2 separate regions of the Homo sapiens genome follow, and region 1 is linked to region 2. The links are contacts of gene promoters, found by promoter capture Hi-C in blood cells and fetal thymus (Javierre and others, 2016). All regions are on one chromosome and are shown on one strand. Each heading gives the region's core, a stretch centred on a gene start or on the middle of the fragment in contact. The rest is flanking DNA. Distances are from core to core; before and after follow the strand shown. Region 1 overlaps GABPB2 (GA binding protein transcription factor subunit beta 2). Region 2 holds the start of TMOD4 (tropomodulin 4).

Evidence for each region. Contacts are between HindIII fragments. The CHiCAGO score rates a contact against its expected background, and 5 or more counts as called.
Region 1: a fragment that was not itself captured here is called in contact with the fragment with the promoter of TMOD4 in region 2 in 1 of 17 cell types (megakaryocytes); the score reaches 5.6 in megakaryocytes.

Annotation. Positions count from the first base shown.
Region 1 is chr1:151,088,585-151,092,319 of GRCh38, forward strand. GABPB2 (GA binding protein transcription factor subunit beta 2) reads left to right here. Exons shown (of 9, transcript NM_144618.3): 3 at 1,822-1,989. Among named protein-coding and RNA genes, the nearest start is that of GABPB2, 20 kb to the left of the region's middle. The HindIII fragment of the contact is 4,511 bases long and covers 1-3,735 here.
Region 2 is chr1:151,174,478-151,178,236 of GRCh38, forward strand. It overlaps TMOD4 (tropomodulin 4), which reads right to left and starts at 1,504. Exons shown (of 10, transcript NM_013353.3): 1 at 1,447-1,504; 2 at 276-440; 3 at 1-70. The coding sequence starts at 398. It overlaps VPS72 (vacuolar protein sorting 72 homolog), which reads right to left. Exons shown (of 6, transcript NM_005997.3): 5 at 3,524-3,668; 6 at 1,827-2,554. The coding sequence ends at 2,167. The HindIII fragment of the contact is 8,410 bases long and covers 1-3,759 here.

The DNA of each region.
Region 1 (3,735 bases), core at 722-3,221, 85 kb before region 2:
AGTGTACTTGGGTTATAGGCTTCTGTAATTAGCTAGAAATTAAACAAAATCAATATAATAAGAATGCATTCCTAGACTAATAAATTCCTTGTTTCCTTTTCTCTAATATGCCCTGGTTAATAAGAAATTGTCTAGGCTGAGCGTGGTGGCTCACGCCTGTAATCCCAGCACTTTGGGAGTCCAAGGCGGGCGGATCACCTGAGGTCAGGAGTTCGAGACCAGCCTGCTAACATGGTGAAACCCGTTTCTACTAAAAATACAAAAAATTAGCTGGGCATGGTGGCGCACGCCTGTAATCCCAGCTACTTGAGAGGCTGAGGCAGGAGAATCGCGTGAACTCGGGAGGTGGAGGTTGCAGTGAGCGGAGATTGCACCATTGCACTACAGCTTGGAAACTCTGTTTCAAAAAAAAAAAAAGAAGTCATCTAGCTGTTTTGTTTCCTTTACCACTGTTCAAAAAACATTAAAGAGGAAGGTGTAATTTAGCCTCAACCATCTTGGAGACCAAAGACTTTCAGAAGAAACAGGTCCAAGTTATAATGTGGGCTTTCTTAGCAGTCACAGATTTTGTACACATTGCCTAATTTTAACAATTTCAATGAATGAGTGACCTCTATTCTGGACTGATTAATTGAGAGGCCAACAGATTATTAGCATTTCACAAAAAGAAAGAAAAGGAAACCCATGAAATTAGCATTTCTATAAATAGACCTGGAAAGAACAATGTGAATTAAATTCAGTCAGGCAGAGAGGCTAAATATATGAAAAAGCAAAGAATAAACTAAACAGGCTTAAAATAAAGAGCATAACAAAAAGAAGGGAATAGAGCTCTGGCCAAAGTGGATGCTGATAGATAACTCTTACAAGATTTACACTGGGATGACAGACTTACTTATTGCTGTTGATACATCATTGCTAAATTTTTATTGCGTCTTCATCTCATCATTCATTTTGCCCTGCTTTACTGTGGCAAAAAACTTTTCTTCCAGTCAGTCAAATTTGTACCTCAAATTCCACATGTAACTTTCTAGTCTCTACCCTTTTTCTTTTTTAAAATTTACTTTATTTATTTATTTTTTAATTTATTATGAGATAAGGTCTCTCTGTGTTGCCCAGGCTGGTCTTGATCTCTTGGGCTCAAGCAGTCCTCCTGCCTTGACCTCCCAAAGTGCTGGGATTGCAGGCATGAGCCACCACATCCAGCCTGATCCTTTTTTTGTTTGTTTTAACCTTCTAGACGTTGCGTAAAGTCACGTCCTTTAGGGAATCTTAACTGATAAATCCACCTGACATAAAGCCATTATACTTAGTACTTATTCAATTGGTGGTATATTTATTTGTCCATTAGCATGTTAATTTTTTTTTTTTTTTGAGACGGTGTTTCACTCTGTCGCCCAGGCTGGAGTGCAGTGGCACAATCTCAGCTCACTGCAACCTCTGCCTCCCAGGTTCAAAGCAATTCTCCCTGCCTCAGCCTCCTGAGTAGCTGGGATTACAGGTGCCCACCACCACGCCTGGCTAACTTTTTTTGTATTTTTTAGTTGAGACGGGGTTTCACCATGTTGGCCAGAAGAGTCTTGAACTCCTGACCTCAGGTGATCTGCCCACCCTGGCCTCCCAAAGTGCTAGGATTACAGGTGTGAGCCAGTGCACCTGGCCCCTGGCCTTTAATTTGTAAATTTAAGCATTTTTTCAGTTTTATCTGCCCAACCAGATTCTCTCTTGAAGGACAAGAACCATAGCTTGTTCATTTGTATCTCTCCAGTAACGATCTAGGACTCTGCACACAGTGGATATTCAATGAGCATTATTTTTCCACAGCTTGGAACATCACCCCTCCACCTTGCAGCTCAATATGGTCATTATTCCACAGCAGAAGTACTCCTTCGAGCAGGTGTTAGCAGGGATGCCCGGACTAAAGTAGACAGGACCCCCTTGCACATGGCTGCAGCCGATGGACATGCGCACATCGTGGAACTGCTTGTTCGGGTAAAGCAAGAATAGGGGCAAGGTTATGTTGTTAAAAAGGCATCCACTTTCCTGTTTTCTTACTTAAATGGGTACTAGGAAATGACTTGGGAATGATTAAGTTTAGGACAGTTATAGCATTAAGTTGCATCTCCAGGAGTCTTCATGGCAGGCCGGGTGCCTATAATCCCAGCACTTTGGGAGGCCGAGACGGGTGGATCACAAGGTCAGGAATTCGAGACCAGCCAGACCAACATGGTGAAACCCCATCGCTACTGAAAAAAAGCAAAAAAAAATTAGCAGGACGTGGTGGTGCGCGACTGTAATCGCAGCTACTCAGGAAGCTGAGGCAGGAGAATCGCTTGAACCTGGGAGGCGGAGGTTGTGGTGAGGCAAGATCACGCCACTGCACTCCAGCCTGGACAACAGAGCAAGAATCCGTCTCAAAACAAAACAAAACAAAACAAAAAAACAAAAAAACAAAAAAAAAAACCTTCATGGCTATGAGGAGTCTGTTTTCTTATTTATTTTTTGTTTGTTTGTTTGATTTTTGAGAAGGAGTCTTGCTCTTGTGGCCCAGGCTGAAGTGCAGTGGCACGATCTCTGCTCACCACAACCTCTGCCTCCTGGGTTGAAGTGATTCTCCTGCCTCAGCCTCCCGAGTAGCTGGGATTACAGGCGCCCGCCACTACACCCAGCCAATTTTTGTATTTTTAGTAGAGACGGGGTTTCACCATGTTGCCCAGGCTGGTCTCAAACTCCTGACCTCAGGTGATCCACCTGCCTTGGCCTCCCAAAGTGCTTGGATTACAGATGTGAGTCACCGCACCTGACTGTTTTCTAATTTATTAAAACAATTTTTTTTTTTTGAGATGAACTCTCAGCTGGGTGCGGTGGCTCACTCCTGTGTCTCAAAAAAAAAAAAAAAAAAAAAAAAAAAAAGATGAAGTCTCGCACTATCGCCCAGGCTCGAGTGCGGTGGCACAATCTTGGCTCATTGTAACCTTCGCCTCCTGGGTTCAAGCGATTCTCCTACCTCAGCCTCCCAAGTAGCTGTGATTACAGGCGCCCACCACCATGCTCAGCTAATTTTTTTTTGTATTTTTAGTAGAGATGGGGTTTCACTGTGTTGGCCAGGCTGGTCTCAAACTCCTGACCTTGTGATCTGCCTGCCTCGGACTCCCAAAGTGGTGGAATTATAGGTGTGAGCCACCACGCCCGGCCCTAAAACAATTTTTTAAATTTGAGACAGGGTCTCACTCTTTTGTCCTGGCTGGAGAGCAGTGGCATGATCATAGCTCACTGCAGTTTTCAACATCTGGGTTCAAGCAATCCTACTGCCTCAGCCTCCAAAGTAGCTGGGAGGACTACAGGCATGCAGCACCATGCCCAGCTAATTTATTTTTGTTTTTATTTTTTGTAGAGAATAGGGTCTCGTTGTATTGCCCAGCCCAGGCTGGCCTTGCACTCCTGGCCTCAAGCAATTCTCCTGCCTCAGCCTCCCAACACTGACAGGTGTGGGGTTACTGTGCCTAGCCAGTTTTCTAATTTTTTTTTTTTTTTTTTTTTTTTTGAGATGGAGTCTTGCTCTGTCGCCAGGCTGGAGTGCAGTGGCGCAATACTGGCTCACTGCAACCTCTGCCTCCCAGGTTCAAGCGATTCTCCTGCCTCAGCCTCCGGAGTAGCTGGGACTACAGGCGTGCTCCACCACACCCAGCTAATTTTTATATTTTTAGTAGAGATGGGGTTTAACCATGTTGGCCAGGA
Region 2 (3,759 bases), core at 254-2,753:
GGTCCAGTGGCCCCGTTGGGCTCTTCTTTGTCTGGTCACGTTGTCTTAGTCCAGCTGGCAGGAGCATGTTCTTAGGGATGAGTTTTGGGGAGCAAGTCAGACCTCCCCTCTGACCTAGGTACTGCTAGGGCTCCCTAAAACATCACCGGACACCTTTCCCCTGGCCTTCTTAGGACCCTAGGTCCTGTAGCAAACCCTATTCTCAGCCACCCAGAGCCCAACACCCTTCCCAAATGCCTGGGACTGCCTCTGGTTCCCTGTGCTGGAGCCCCTACCTCAGGATCCATCTCCTGTAGTTCGCAGTCCAGCTGCTCTAGCTCCTCGGGGCTCAAGGTCCTTAGGATCTCATCTTCATCTATGTCTCTGTATTTCTCCAGTTCCTTCTGATATGATGACATGGTGGCCCCCACCCCCTCCCCACTGTGTGGTACTCACAGAGCCTGGGCAACATGGGACAAAAGGATGGACAATGGTAAGATGGACAGGGACACAGCAGGGACACAAAGAGACCAGCCAGGGGGGCAGAACATTGGATTGGATTTCTTGGAGATTAGAAGTCTAGTTGAGGATGGGAAGTGGGGAAGATTAGGTTGTTTAGAGTTAGAACTAGAGTCTCCTTTCTGCTTCCCCAGCTTCCAGCCACTCTGGATGGGGATCCCAGACATCTAAGCTGGGTTTGTCTTCCCACGGTATGACAGAGAAATCCTGGCAGCACCCCTCCCCTATAACCTCACTTGTCAGTGCCTTCGCCCTAACACAGCTGCTGGAAGCCCTGCCAACACAGCTGGTCCTATGCCCAGTTCCTATTGAAAGGGGATGAGGGGTGGGGGAATAGAGAGCTTCAGGGAAATTCCTCCTCTCCTCCTCATAATCCAGGCTTTTTCCTAAACCGGATAAAAAAACCAAGGACAATGAGGTGTAAGGGGAAGAGAGAGTCTCTTACCCCATCCTCATTTCCCTTTTATTGTGGGGGATCAAGATTTCACTTTCTGTGTTTGCTAAAATTTGAAGTCTTAAGGGAAAGCAAGGGCTCGGAGCAGTTGGGGGACTTCCAGGTTGGGGGAAGGGTAGTAAGGCCTCTGTGAGTCCCCATAATCTGTCCCTTGCTTTGGACAGGAAGGTGACACCAGACCAATGGGTGTAAATAGGGTAAAGTTTCTTTAAAAACAGTGGGAATATTAAACTCGCACAATTTTGTACAATATAAGATACGCATAAGGAGCTATGCATACACACCATGCTGAATATGAAAGATCCAGAAAGTATGTGAGACACATCGACAATGTAAACTATACACAGTTAAGGGGTAGGACGGCACAGTGGCAGAAATATACACTGAGTGACAGAGACAGGGACACACTCCACATCATTCCCCATAGGAGCCACTCTTCTCCTCCCATCTCCCACCGGGCTCTCATCCATAAGCCCCCTGTCTTCCCCACCTACCAGTCCTGGTGGTCACCTCCCTTCTCACCTCCCCTGTGTCAGTAGGTCTGTCTGTTCTACTAGAGCACTGTCCCAGCAGCAGGAGGAGCCCGGTGCCGGGGGAGAGGGTGGGGGAACAGTGAGCTCAGCATTTTATTATTTTAGCTCTGGCCAGGTGGGGGGTAGTGGGAGATCACATATACACAGCCCCCATACCCTGCCCAGCCCTGAGAGCCTCTAGTGGTCATTAACAGCCATGGCATCTCTTCCACTTCCCTTCATACAAGCCCCAGTCTGAGACATATGAGTTCGACTAGAATCAGCCAGTTCCTCCTTATTTGGTGCCTGCTGTATTCAAAACAGTGAGTGTAAAGTGATAGGAAGGTCAATACAAGGATGTGTTTTGGTGTGCAATTTTCAGATGTTTATAATTTAGTTGGAGGAATGAATACAATTTAGAAAGGACAGCTCATAATAAATGCTATCGAATAAAGACCCAAATATATGCAGGTATTCAAATACTTCTTGCTCCCAACCCTAGACTGGACACCAGACAAAAGGGATCTTTCTATTTTATTAGATTAAAAAACACAACGAAACCTGTAAGAACTAGGGGAAAAGGAAAAAGAAACAGATTAGGCAAAGATCAGAGATGACAAAGGGGAGAAGCAGGGAGAAGAAACGGAACAGCAAGAGCCCCAATCAGGGCAGGAAAGAAGTTTCTGAGGACTAGACATCTCTTCATTTAATGACAATTTTCTGGCGCAAGGCTCGGGGCCCAGAGCCAGGGAGGGGCTCAGGAGGTGGCGGGCCGGGGCCCAGGGCTGAGGCAGTGGGCGGCAGTCCATGGGCAGTAATGTACTTCTTGTAAGCCTCACGAATGATCTTGAAGGCTCGAGCAGTGGCATAGGGTATGTCTGTAACAGGGTCCCGGTATAGGGCTGGACGATGGGTCACTGGACAGACCTCACGAACAGGGACTTTTGGGGGCCGCCCTTGGGGGAACCATTCCTCGAAAGTTGCATCATCACTAAAAGTGATGAAGGTACGTGAGCAGCGAGCAGGGGGGTTGACGGGTCCAGTCCCAGCATGAGGAGTCAATGCAGACACCGAGGGAGCAGGATCAAGTCTGAGGACAAAAGACAAGGAAAAACACAAAGAGCTGAGGAGAGAAGACAACAGATACAGAAAGAAGGAAATCAGGCTGGGTGCAGTGGCTCACACCTGTAATTCCAGCACTTTGGGAGGCTGAGGCAGGCAGATGACGAGGTCAGGAGTTCGAGACCAGCCTGACTAACAAGGTGAAACCCTGTCTCTACTAAAAATACAAAAATTAGCCGGGCGTGGTGGCGGATGCCTGTAATCACAGCTACTCAGGAGGTTGAGGCAGGAGAATCACTTGAAGCCAGGAGGCGGAGGTTGCATGGAACCAAGATCGTGCCATTACACTCCAGCCTGGGTGACAGAGCAGCGAGACTCCATCTCAAAAAAAAAAAAAAAAGAAAAGAAAGAAAGAAGGAAATCAGAGAGATGAGGAAAGAGAAAAAGGAGGCAGGGTGTTGGGAACATTCTGAGGAACGTACTAAGTGACTGATGGGAAAAGAAAGCTAGGCTAGAAGGAAAAACAGGAAAGAGAAGAACAGAGAAGCTAAAAGAAAAAGGAATAAGAAAGAAATAAGCTGGGCTGGGCGCGGTGGCTCACACCTGTAATCCCAGTATTTTAGGAAGATGAAGCGGGACGATTACTTTAACCCAGGAGTCTGGGCAACACAGCGAAACCGTCTCTACAAAAAATACAAAAATTAGCATGTGTGGCTGTACTCCCAGCTACTTGGGAGGCTAAGGTGGGAGGATCGCCTGAGCACAGGAGGTGGAGGTTGCAGTGAGCCGAGACTGCACCACTGCATTCCAGCCTAGGTGACAGAGCAGCATCATGTCTCAAAAAAAAAAAAAGAAAAAGAAATTGAGCTGAAGGGAGTTAGGAATCTGAAAGAAATCTCCAAGTGTTAAGGAGAGCTGTGTGAGAAAAGCAAGCAAAATGGGGCCAAGAGAACATGAGCTGAACACACAATCTCTTTTCCTCTTGAGATTCACTCACCCTTCTATGTCAACGTTCTCTTCCTTGGGGCCTGGCTCCCCAACAAGTGGCACTGTCACTGAATGATAGGTGATTATGGGCCCGGGGCACTTCCGCTTCTTATGAACCTGCTTCTTTTTATCAGCCTCGAGCCGCTCATATGTCTCTTTAGGGTCAAAGGAAGAAATGAGGGGATGATCAGAATGTCCCTTTTTCCCATATCCCAGTACTGTCCCACGATCTCTCAATTATCTTCC